Linked DNA regions of Homo sapiens: regions 1 and 2 are each linked to region 3. The links are contacts of gene promoters, found by promoter capture Hi-C in human tissues and cell types (Jung and others, 2019). All regions are on one chromosome and are shown on one strand. The core of a region is centred on a gene start or on the middle of the fragment in contact, and the rest is flanking DNA. Distances in the headings are between cores, read along the strand shown.

Evidence for each region. The method cuts DNA at HindIII sites, captures the fragments that hold promoters and counts their contacts. A contact is called where the count stands out against the background at its distance.
Region 1: a contact is called between the fragment with the promoter of ZNF93 here and a fragment that was not itself captured in region 3, in 2 of the 25 tissues and cell types used here (aorta and spleen).
Region 2: a contact is called between the fragment with the promoter of ZNF253 here and a fragment that was not itself captured in region 3, in 2 of the 25 tissues and cell types used here (bladder and mesendoderm cells).

What each region holds. Positions count from the first base shown.
Region 1 is chr19:19,898,413-19,902,383 of GRCh38, forward strand. ZNF93 (zinc finger protein 93) reads left to right here and starts at 2,534. Exons shown (of 4, transcript NM_031218.4): 1 at 2,534-2,679. The coding sequence starts at 2,677. RefSeq lists enhancers at 2,504-3,103, 2,638-3,187, 3,736-3,971. The HindIII fragment of the contact is 8,115 bases long and covers 1-3,971 here.
Region 2 is chr19:19,864,362-19,868,336 of GRCh38, forward strand. It overlaps ZNF253 (zinc finger protein 253), which reads left to right and starts at 1,521. Exons shown (of 4, transcript NM_021047.3): 1 at 1,521-1,638. The coding sequence starts at 1,636. It overlaps LOC124904664 (a long non-coding RNA gene), which reads right to left. Exons shown (of 4, transcript XR_007067169.1): 1 at 2,075-3,975. RefSeq lists an enhancer at 1,552-1,981. The HindIII fragment of the contact is 7,733 bases long and covers 1-3,975 here.
Region 3 is chr19:19,591,681-19,596,019 of GRCh38, forward strand. All of the region lies in intron 2 of PBX4 (PBX homeobox 4), which reads right to left. Among named protein-coding and RNA genes, the nearest start is that of PBX4, 25 kb to the right of the region's middle. RefSeq lists an enhancer at 936-1,560. The HindIII fragment of the contact is 8,394 bases long and covers 1-4,339 here.

The sequences.
Region 1 (3,971 bases), core at 1,284-3,783, 310 kb after region 3:
CTTCACTCCCCTCTCTTCTAAGCTCTTTTCTAACCAGACTGTCATATCTTCTATGCCCAGTGATAAGACTAAAATAGATATTGTAAAAGTAACTAATTTAAGGCAAACTTTAACAATTAAAACAAGATACCAAGATACAAATGCCTGGTTAAAATGGATCAAATATTCTGTGCACACATTAAGCAAAAGCAATTGTTATGCTTGTGCACGCGGCCAGCCAGAGGCCCAAATTGTCCCTTTCCCACTCAGATGGTCTTCTAGTTGACCAGGCATAAACTGTATAGTAGCTCTTTTCCAAGACCCCACAGCCTAGGGTAATAAATCCTGCTGAGCTCTCTCTCTGCTATTTCTTAAAGTCCAACACCCTGTGGGTCAGGCCCCAAGAGCCATCCAGCCTCCATCTCCTAGCGTCAATTTTACCTCGTGTCTCTCACGACAAGGGGAAAACTTGGCATTTCTTGGAGACTTAATGGGATACAGTGAGCTTAAGCCTTTCCAAGATCTTACCAGTCAGTCTTCCCTTGTTCATCTTTGAGCAAATATATGGTGGTATTGTGGTGGACCCTTACTGGACACTCTGCCAAGTAACTGGAACGGCACTTGCACTGTTGTCCAGTTGGCTATCCCTTTCACTCTGGCATTTCATCGACTAGAAAAAGAAAAACCACAACACTGTAAAATAAGAGAAGCCCCTTATGTGTCTTTTGACTTTCAAGTTTATTTAGACACAACTGGAGTCCCACGGGTGGTACCTGATGAATTCAAAGCCCAAGATCAAATAGCTGCAGGATTTAAATCAATATTTCCACGGGTAACTATTAATAAAAATGTAGATTAGATAGATAAATCACATCTATTATAATCAATATTAGTTTATTAATTACACCAGAAATGCTGTCAAAGAAATAGCCAACCAATTAAGGCCTACTAGCCAGATAACTTAGAAAAACAAAATGGCCCTGGACATAATATTAGCTGAAAAAGGTGGAGTTTGTGTTATGATTAAAACTCAAATGTTGTACCTTCATCCCAAACAATACTGCCCCCAATAGGAACATAAGAAGGGCCTTACACGAACTTACCACTTTATCCAATGAATTAGCTAAAAATTCTGGGGTCAATAACACGTTTTCAGAATGGCTAGAGAGGTGGTTCAGTAAACGAAAAAAAGTCATAGCCTCAATTCTTACTTCTCTTATAGTTGTAATAGGTGTACTAATTCTTGTTGGGTGTTGTGTCATACCATGCATCTGTGGGCTAGTACAAAGACTTATAAAAACGACACTTACGAAAACCTCCCTTAGTTCTCCTCCACCTTATTCAGATAAACTTTTCCTTTTAAAAGATCAAGTCAAACAACAAAGTAAAGGTATGTTTAAAAAGTTTTAAAAAGCGTGTGGTCGCAGTGGCTCACGCCTGTAATCCCAGCACTTTGAGAGGCTGATGCGGGCGGATCACCCGAGGTCAGAAGTTAGAGACCAGCCTGACCAATATGAAGAAGCCCCATCTATACTAAAGACACAAAATTAGCTGGTCGTGGTGGCACATGCCTGTACTCCCAGCTACTCGGGAGGCTGAGGCAGGAGAATTGCTTGAACCTGGGAGGCAAATGTTGTAGTGAGCCAAAATCGTGCCATTGCACTCCAGCCTAGGCAGCAAGAGCAAAAACTCCATCTCAAAAAAAAAGGTTTTTTTTTAATTATAAAAATTAAAAGGGGGAAATTGTAAAATACAATAAAATTCCTCTTCAAAGGTTTAGTCTTAACTTTCTTGTTCTTTGTTCTCAAACTCAACTTGCTTGTTCTCCATGCCTCCTTGCCCCTAGTTACTGTAACAACCTTCCTTCCCAACAGCTCTAATCAATAATTCACATCTGTTCCCTTGATTACTCACTCTGCAGCCTTCCCACCCTTCAAAACCACACGTCCCACCACTGTGACTTATACATGCCCCTTCCCTTCCTTATTTGGAAAAATATTTACAAATAGCCAATCGGGTCAGTTTAGATTGTGGGGTCCGACCCTAGCCCATGGGGGAGTAACACAGAGGAAGAGACTTTACGTTAAAAATAAAAACCCCTTCCCTCCTTTGTTCAGGGTGCTCTTGCGATCGTGATTAATGCAAACAAAAACCTTTTGCAGAAGTAAATTGCCTTACTAAAAAAACTTTTGCCTGAGTACTGGTTTCACTTTGCGACACCAAACACTTTACTTCCAACGGTATTATTAATATGACAACGAAATACTTCTGTTCACCTTTTCAATACATTCAAAAAGAGAGAGTAAAAAAGAGAATGTTCCCATGCTCTGGGGTGGACGTGGCTCAGCTCAGAGAGGAAGCCCTGGCTGAAAAGGCTGCAGCTTAGGCTGTTACTCTTCTTCACTCAGCCCAGCATGTGATCACATCTTCTGTCACTCAGGTCCTGAGGGGGCGGGACCTTAAGAATTATCCAATCAGGGACGCTGGGCTGGAAACGTCCAATCAGGCAAGCAGCCGGACCGAACAGGGCGGCTTCTGGTTTGGCGGGTCCTTTGTCTCTCGGTGCAGCCGGAGCTCCAGGTCTCCTCTTCACTACTCTGTGTCCTGTGCTCCTACAGGCCCAGCCTCTGTGGCCCTGTGACCTGCAGGTATTGGGAGATCCACAGCTAAGACACCAGGACCCCTGGAAGCCTAGAAATGGTGAGAGTGCCGGTCCGACATCCCAAGCGACGGGGAGGGGCTGGTTGGAACCGGTGGAAAGTGACGGTGGCGGGACTCAGGTATCCCCTTAGTCAGCTCCACAATCTGCGCCGGAGTTCTTGCCCAGCTCGGCCTCGGTTCCCTTCAGCCATAAGATGGCGGCTGCGCTTATAGCGCAGCCCCCAGGCGTCCTGTCTCTTCACTGTGCGGTGACTGTGCCCTGGCTTGGAGCCCTCGCTGGGCAGCTGCGCACCCGCAGAGCCGCTTCTCTCCCAGATTGTGCAGAGACCACGGGAGAGTCGTCAGGGGAGAATCCTGACTCGGAGTGCGGGTTCACGAATGGGAAGAGCTTTAGTGGGTTGGGTTCACAGTTTCTCTTTTCTCCTATTAAAAATTTATGGGGCTGGGCAAGGTGGCTCACTCCTGTAATCGCAGCAGTTTGGGAGGCCGAGGCGGGCGGATCACTTGAGGAGTTGTTAGGGCAGCTAAGTTCCTCTTCAGAGACTCAACTTCCTGGTCATAAGTTGTAAAAATTGTAAATCAACCCTACCCCTTCTTTTTCCCCATTCTCCTTTTCTCAAAACATCGCGCGTTTACCCTATATGGAAAAAGTTTGTGTCTAGCCCAACCAGGATCAGCTTAGATTGTGCGGTGGGACCTCAGCCAATATGGGAAGGACACAAAAACCGGAACTGCGTTAGGGTTAAATCCCCTTCCTGGCCCAGCGCGGTGGCTGATGCCTGTAATCCCAGCACTTTGTGAGGCCGTGGCGGGTGGATCACAAGGTCAGGAGTTCTAGGCCAGCCTGGCCAACATAGTGAAACCCCGTCTCTACTAAAAATACAAAAATTAGCCGGGATTGGTGGCAGGCGTCTGTAATCCCAGCTACTTGGGAGGCTGACGCACGAGAATTGCTTGAACCTGGGAGGCGAGGTGCAGTGAGCCGAGAGCTTGCCATTGTACTCCAGCCTTGGTGACAAAGTGAGACTCCGTCTTAAAAAAAAAATAGACATCTTAAAATTTCCTTCCCTTATGTAAATACTGTGTTTGAGTAATTTCACGGATTTTTCAAACACTGAGTTTCAAAAACCAAGTGAATAACTCTGACATGACAAAGCTTGAGCCTAGTGACTCCAAGCTAAGGCTAATATTAAGCCTAAAACAGAAGGTTTTTTTTTTGGACAGAGTTTTGCGTTTTGCTCTTGTTGCCCAGGTGGAGTACAGTGGCGCAATCATGGCTCACTGAAATCTCCACCTCCTGGGTTCAAGCGATTCTCCTGCCTCAGCCTCTC
Region 2 (3,975 bases), core at 271-2,770, 270 kb after region 3:
GCCTAATTTTTTGTATTTTTAGTAGAGATGGGGTTTCACTGTGTTGGCCAGGCTGGTCTTTAACTCCTGACCTCAAGTATTCCACTCACCTTGGCTTCCCAAAGTGCTGGGATTACAGGCGTGAGCCAACGCACCTGTCCCTAAATGATTTCTTTCTATCTCCTATAACAGTTTGAAATTACTTAAAGGTTGTTTCAAACTGAAAAAATAAAAAGAATGTAGATATAAATAAAATATAGTTAAAAAATTACAGGAGATTACAAATTATATATGTAAATCTCGAGAGGTCAAAAATGACAAATTTTGTTTATTTACAAGGTTTTATTTATGTATTTATTCATTTTTGGAGACGCAGTCTCACTTTGTCACCCAGGCTTGAGTGCAGTGGTGCGATCTTGGCTCACCGCAACCTCTGCCTCCTGGGTTCAAGCCATTCTCCTGCCTCAGCCTCCTGAGTAGCTGGGACCACAGGTGCATGCCACCACGCCCGGGTAATTTTTTGTATTTTTAGTAGAGACAGAGTTTCACCGTGTTAGCCAGGATGGTCTCGATTTCCTGACCCAGTGATCTGCCCTCCTCAGCCTCCCAAAGTACTGGGATTACAGGCCTGAGCCACCGCACCTGGCTTTACAAGGTCTTATTAAAATTAGCTTTAGTATTGATAATACACTATTACCAAAGTAAAAGTTGACTTTCTCTTGAACAAACATTTCATGTATTATTAATATGACAGCAAAGTACTTCTGTTCACCTTTTGAATACATTCAAAAAGAGAGAGAATATGAGATAGAATTTTCCCATGCTCTGGGATGGGATGCTCAGCTCAGGGAGGAAGCCGTTTGAAAAGGCTCCAGCTAGGCTAGGCGCGGTGGCTCACGCTTGTAATCCCAGCACTTTGGGAGGCCGAGGCGGGCGGATCACCTGAGATCGGGAGCTCGAGACCAGCCTGACCAACACGGAGAAACCCTGTCTCTACTAAAAGTACAAAAAATTAGACGGGCGTGGTGAGGCATGCCTGTAATCCCAGCTACATGGGAGGCTGAGGTAGGAGAATCGCTTGAACCCGGGAGGTGCAGGTTGCGGTGAGCCAACATCGTGCCATTGCACTCTAGCCTGGGCAACAAGAGGGAAACTCCGTCTCGGTGGGGGGAAAAAAGAAAGAAAAGAAAGAAAGAAAGAAAGAAAGAAAAAGAAAGAAAGAAAGAAAGGAAAGAAAGAAAGAAAGAAAGAAAGAAAGAAAGAAAGAAAGAAAGAAAGAAAGAAAGAAAGAAAGAAAGAAAGAAAGAAAGAAAGAAAGAAAGAAAGAAAGAAAGAAAGAAAAGGCTGCAGCCTAGGCTGTCACTCTTTCTTCACTCAGCCCAGTATCTGATCACATCTGTCACTCAGCGGCTGGGGAGGCGGGGCCTTAGGCATTATCCAATGAGGGACGCTGGGCCGGAAACCGTCCAATCAGGCACGCAGCTGGAGCGAACCACATGGTTTCTGGGGGCCTTTGTTTCTCGCTGCAGCGGGAGCTCCAGGTTTATCCTCAGTGTTCTGTGTCCTGTGCTTATAGAGGCCCGTCCTCTGTGGCCGTGTGACCTGCAAGTATTGGGAGAGCCACAGCTAAACCCCGGGACCCCTGGAAGCCTAGAAATGGTGAGTGCCGGGTCCAACGTCCCGAGAGAGGGGAGAGGCTGTTTGGAACGGTGGGAAGTGGCTCTGGCGGGACTCTGCTTCCTCACAGTCAGCTCCACAATCTGCCGCCGGAGTTCTCCCTGCCCAGCTCGGCCTCAGTCCCCTTCAGCCATAAGATGGCGGCTGCGGTGACATCCGGGGCCCGGCACAGTGATTGTGCCCTGGCCTGGAGCCCTCTTTCAGCAGCTCTGCACCCGCAGCACCGCGTCTCTCCCAGATCATGCAAGGACCACGGGAGGGTCGTCAGGGGAGAATCCTGACTCGGTTCCCTGCGGGTTCATGAATGGGAAGAGCTTTGGTCCGTGAGGTTGTTAGAAACAAGCGCTTGGTGCCGCAAAACAACACAAAACAAAAAACTACCCAGCACTTAGAAAATTTCACAGGAAGGCATATTTACTTCTGAAGAAGAGTGCTGCTCGCGTCCGACCTGATCGCAAGAGCACACAGAAGAAAGGAAGGAAGGTTTTTTTTTTTTTTGAGGCGGAGTTTTGCTCTTGTGGCCCAGGCTAAAGTACAATGGCGCGATCTCGGCTCACTGCAACCTCCGTCTCCCGGGTTCAAGTGATTCTCCTGCCTCAGCCTCCCGAGTAGCTGGGGTTACAGGCATGCGTCACCACACCCGGCTGATTTTGTATTTTTAGTAGACATGCCGTTTCACCATGTTGGTCAGGCTGGTTTTGAACTCCCGAACTCAGTTGATCCGCCCGCCTCGGCCTCCCAGTTTGAAAGGGGTTTTTAACCCTAAACGCCGTTATTGCCTCTGTGTCCTTCCCCCATTGGCCGGGGTCTGACCTCACAATCTAGGCTGACCCGATTGGCTACTTTCCAAATAAGGAAGGGGTTCGGGTCGCAGATTGGAACAGGCGGTTTGGGTTGTTTACGGAGCGGGTGTCTAGGTACAAAGAGGTACAAAAAAGTTGGTCCTAAGAACAAGGAACAAGAAAGTTAGGCCCTTGAAGAGGAATCTATTATATCTGTCAGGGTTCACAGTTTCCCTTTTCTCCTATTAAAAATTTATGGGGCCGGGCGCGGTGGCTCACGCCTGTAATAACAACACTTCAGGAGGTCGAGGTGGATGGATCACTTGAGGTCAGGAGTTGAAGACCAGCCTGGCCAAAATGGGGAAACCCCATCTCTACTAAAAGTACAAAAATTAGCTGGGTGTGATGGCGAATGTCTGGTTTTCTGTTTCTGCATTAGTTTTCTGAAATAATGGTCTACAGCTTTATTGATGTTATTGCAAAGGACATGATCATTTATTTTTAAATGGCCAGAGAGTATTCCATGATATTTATGTACCATATTTTGTTTTTACTAAATCTTTTATTTTATTTTATTTTTGGAGACAGAGTGTCACTTATTGCCCAGGCTAGAGTGCTGTGGAGTGATGCAGCCTTATTTAGCCTCAACCTCCCTGGCTCAAGCAATTCTCTCCTACCTCATCCTTTCACGTAGCTTGATCTACACGCTGGTGTTACCACGCCTGGCCAATTTTTCTCTTTGTATTTTCTGTGGAGACAGGATTTTGCAATGTTGCCCAGGTTGGTCTTAAACTTCTAAGCTCAGGCAATCCACCTGCCTCAGCCTCCCAGAGTGCTGGGATTACAGGCATGAGCCACCGCATCTGACCATACCGTGTTTTCTTTATCCAGTCTACCACTGATAGGGCCTGTCCATGTCTTTGCTATTGTGAATAGTGCTGCAATGAACATACATATGAATGTATCTTTATAATACAATAATTTATATTTCTTTGGGTATATACCCAATTATGAGGTAGAGTATAAGCATTCCCTTTTCTCTGCAACCTTGCCAGCATCTGTTATTTTTTGACTTTTTAAAAATAGCCATTCTGACTGGTGTGATGTGGTATCTCATTGTGGTTTCTCTTAATTTCTCTAATGATTAGTGATGAGCTTTTTTTTTTTCATATGCTTGCTAGCCACATGTATATGTTCTTTTGAAAAGCATCTATTCATGTTTTTTTGGCCTATTTTTTAATGAGATTTTTTTTTTCTTGTAAACTTGTTTAAGTTCTTAATAAATTCTGGATATTAGACTTTTGTCAGAGGCAAAGTTTGCAAATTTTTTTTATTCTGTAGGTTGTCTGTTTACTCTGTTAATAGTTTCCTTTGCTGTGAAGAAGCTCTTTAGTTCAAATAGGTCCCATTGTCAATTTTTGCTTTTGTTGCAATTGCTTTTGGTAGCTTCATCATGAAGTGTTTGCCAGTTTCTGTGTCTAGAATGGTACTTCCTAGGTTATCTTGCAAGGTTTCTTACAATTTTAAGTTTTTCATT
Region 3 (4,339 bases), core at 625-3,124:
CACTCGAGATCTGAGATCCGAAGCTTTTCACACAAGCTGTCACTCATGCTCATGTGGAGGTAAAGCCTGACACATTCCAACGTGCCAGGCTGTCCCTGCTCTGGTGCCAAACACCACTGTGTGAATTCAGGCCACGCCTCAGTCCTCACTGGGAACATCAATGTGACAAACCTTATTTTTTATTTTTATATTTTTTTAGAGGCAGAGTCTCACTTTGTCGCCCAAGCTGGGGTGCAGTGGTGTGATCTCAGCTCACTGCAAACCTCACATCCCAGGTTCAAGTGATTCTTCTGCCTCAGCCTCCCGTGTAGCTAGGATTATAGGCACCCGCCACCATGCCCAGCTAGTTTTTGTATTTTTAGTAGAGATGGGTGGGTGAGGGAGGTGGGGGGGTGGTTCACCATATTGGCCAGGCTGGTCTCGAACTCCTGACCTCAGGTGATCCGTCTGCCTCAGCCTCCCAAAGTGCTGGGATTATAGGCGTGAGCCACTGTACCTGGCCAACGTGACACATCTTAAATCCAACGCTTTCGAATTCTGCAACATACCTAGTCCCAGGGTCTCAGCAAAGGGACTGTGGCCCGTATCTGGTTCTCCCAGCTAAATTCAAAGCTCTGCAACTAATCAGGGTTTATTTTGTTCTCAGAACAGCTCCTCTAGACACCGAGGAGGACAGCTGTTTCTGGGAAGGAGGGTTTGGGAGGAAATGCATACGCTGAGGGTGTCCTTGGCCTTCAGAGACCACCGCAGGGCAGGAACACCCAGACACTGTGGTGTGGTGAAGCTGACCCCAGGAGACAAGCTTTGAGGGACCTGCCTGCATACCTCCGACAGGCCATTCCTGGGGTTCACCAGGGACTGCTGGCAGTGCATCCGGTGATGCCAGGTTTACATGGAGGACCACGTTCTTTTCAGGCTGCTGTGAGTGATAAGCCCTGTGTTCTAAGTCAGGCCCCCAGACACTGAATCTTCTGAACCTCATAAGGGGAACTGGATGAAAGGGATTTCAGTTAGTATGTATCAGTCACCAGAAACAGTTTTTCAATCAACAAAAACAGAAAGGCACCGGGACAGACCCTGAGAACATAGCGCATCCTAGACCCTGCGCTGGCCAGGAATGGTCATTGTTCAGATGACACAGGTGGGTGTGTGGGGCCCATGAGTGCCGGCCATGAGGGACAGGCCCTGGGTCCCTTTCATGAGTGAGGACAGTGTACGGGGTGGGGCGGCATGCAGCCTGGCTGTGGGTGACTGGTGTGCCCTGGGGAGGCCCCTGTCTCTTAGAGCTTCCCACTGCCCATCTGTAAAACGGGAGAAAAGGGTCTGCCCGAGGCTGTGCAGGGCTCTGGGGAACAACTCGAGGAAGCCCCGAGCTGCCTGCCCAGGCTCCATCAATACCCACCAGACTTAATCTTTGCCGTTGTTGTTGTTGTAGAGACAGGGTCTTACTGTGTTGCCCAGGTTGGTCTCATACTCTTGGGCTCAAGCGATTCCAAAGTACTGGGATTATAAGTGTGAGCCACCATGTCCTGCCCCACCAGGCTTTAAATGCTCTGTGGAAGTTTGGTCTTTACCATAAGGCCTGCTGCAGACTTCAGCCAGAGGGAAATGTGAGAACTGTGGGTTAAATCGAGAAGCACGCCAGGACCCCGGCTCATGGGATTGCCCTTCAAGAGGCGGCCCGTGGGTACCACAGGGTGCAGGATCAGGACCATGAACAGTTTCCTCTGGGCTGAGACTTGGCCATTCCTAGTCACGGGATGAGGACAGATGGAGCAGAATCGAAATCCTGTTTACTTTCCTGCCACTGGCTGGTTTGTCTCCGAGACTAGAAGGCTGAGGTGTTCCTGACATCAAGGCAGGTGGCCCACAGGTGGGACCCACAGCACTCACTGACTGCACTTCCTGATATAAAAAGATACCTGGACACTCCAGGTGACACTCAGGAACAGGCATCCCTCAGCTCCAGGCTTGTGCATTTCAGGGAGGAGCAGTTGCTGTCTCATCCCTGTCCTACTGTACCCCAAAACATACCCTGTACCCAGATGTTTGAGCCAGTCAGTGGGAAGAAAGCATTAGCTTCCAAGGAAATGCCCAGGTGGCCGGTGCTCTGAGCCCTGCAGCGGCCTTGGGACTCAGCTTGGAGGAATCAAAAGTCCTGAGTGGCCAGGCACAGTGGCGCCTGCCTGTAACCCCACACCTTGGGAGGCTGAGGCAGGAGGATCACTTGAGCTCAGGAGTTCAAGGCCAACCTGGGCAACATACTAAGACCTCATCCCCCCAAAAATAGTCCTCAGCGACCCCTAGACATGGTGGTGTGTGCGGAAGCTGAGGTGTGAGGATCACTTGAGCCCAGGAGTTTGAAGCCAATCTGGGCAACACAGTGAGACTCTGTGTCTTAATTAAAAAAAAAAAAAAATAAAAAATAAAAAATTAAAAATGTCGCCGGGCATGGTGGCACATGGCTGTAATCCCAGCACTTTGGGAGGCCGAGGCGGGCGGATCACCTGAGGTCAAGAGTTCAAGACCAGCCTGACCAACAGGGTGAAACCCTGTCTCTACTAAATACAAAAAATTAGCCGGGTGTGGTGGCAGATGCCTGTAATCCCAACTACTCGGGAGGCTGAGGCAGGAAAATTGCTTGAACCTGGGAGGCAGTGAGCCGAGATTGCGCCATTGCACTCCAGCCTAGGCAACAAGAGTGAAACTCTGTCTAAAAAAAAAAAAAAAAGAGTCCTGAGCATGGCCCTCAAAGCCTAGGCAGATGGGGGTAGGGAGGTGGGGCGACACCAGCGGTTGAAATGGACAGACATCTCAGCTGCACTGGCAACAGTTGGTATCAACTCTTGTTTTCCCTCCTGAAACTGCTGAATTTGAGACTAACAGACTCATGCAGTAACATCCACACAGGGGCAGATGGAATTATGAAGAGGCGTGCCCAGGCTGAACACCCACACTCTCAAAAATTGGTTTCTCGTTCAGCCCCAGCAGCTCACTGGTAGGAAGGTCAAGAATGACAGCTTCCTGAGACTACAGTTGATTAAAGTACTTTTTTTTTTTAGACAGGGTCTCACTCTGTCACCCAGGCTGGAGTGCAGTGGCGCAATGTCATCTCACTGCAACCTCTGCCTCCTGGGTTCAAGTGATACTCCTGCCTCAGCCTCCTGAGTAACTGGGATTACAGGCGCATGCCACCACGCCCAGCTAATTTTTGTATTTTTAGTAGAGACGGGGTTTCATCATGTTGGTCAGGCTGGTCTCGAACTCCTGATCTCAGGTGGTCCAACTGCCTCGGCCTCCCAAAGTGCTGGGATTACAGGCGTGAGCCACCGCACCCAGCCTTTAAAAAGTACTTTTTAAAATAGTTTTTTATTATTACTAAATTCCAGATGTTGCATTGCTAAACATCCGCTGTGGGCAGTGGGGAGCCCCCAAAGGCTGCTTCCTGGGGTCAGGGTCAGGGGTGAGCAAGGGACAACTTGGGCTGCCTGTGCCTATTGGTACACATGCCTCAGCAAGTGGTCCTGACACTGGCTTATTTTTATTAGGTGAAAAGTGAAAGGGACCAACATTACACAATTCCACAATACTAAGAAACACGTGACCACAGCCAGTGTCTCCAGGGGGTGGATACACATTGGCTGTGTCCTTCTGAGCGGCTTCCCTCAGCCTGCAGTACTTGGGGCTCATTCGGGTACAGGGCCCCCGCTTGTCCAGCTTACCACACGAATGCTGAAGCACCATCAGGGAGTGCTGCCAGGGAGTTGAGGGCAAATTTGCTTAAAACCAGTTCACCGCTAACAAGAAACTTGTGTGTCTGGTTCCCCAGGAAAGCCTAACCTTTGTGTTTCCATTTCCATGGCATCTGCTCCCCACAATTTAAATAAGGAACAGATAAGACAGGTCATCAGATATTTACATACCCATGAGAGGCATATGAGGTGGGCAGGAAGCCAGGGGCATCACAGCCCAGCATCTGGCCCCGTCGGGAGGATGACCTGGCACTGGGTGTTGGAGACCAACAGGGGGCATATCATGTGGGGGCTGTCAGCAGCAGCAGTCTGCTGGGGGGTGGGGACAAGGAGGGGTCTGCTTGGCTGGGGGATTAAGTATACTTGGGGGTGAAGGAGGTGGGAGATTGATTACACAAGCAAAAGTACTGAGGACAACAGGAGCAGGCTCTCACTGTTGGAGGAAGGAGTCACAAACCTGGGAAGAGAGAAAAATAGTGGGAACCCTGTGGTGAACTAGAATTAAAGATATTGGAGTGGGCCAGGTACAGTGGCTCATGCATGTAATCCCAGCACTTTGGGAGGCCAAGGTGGGAGTATTGCTTGAG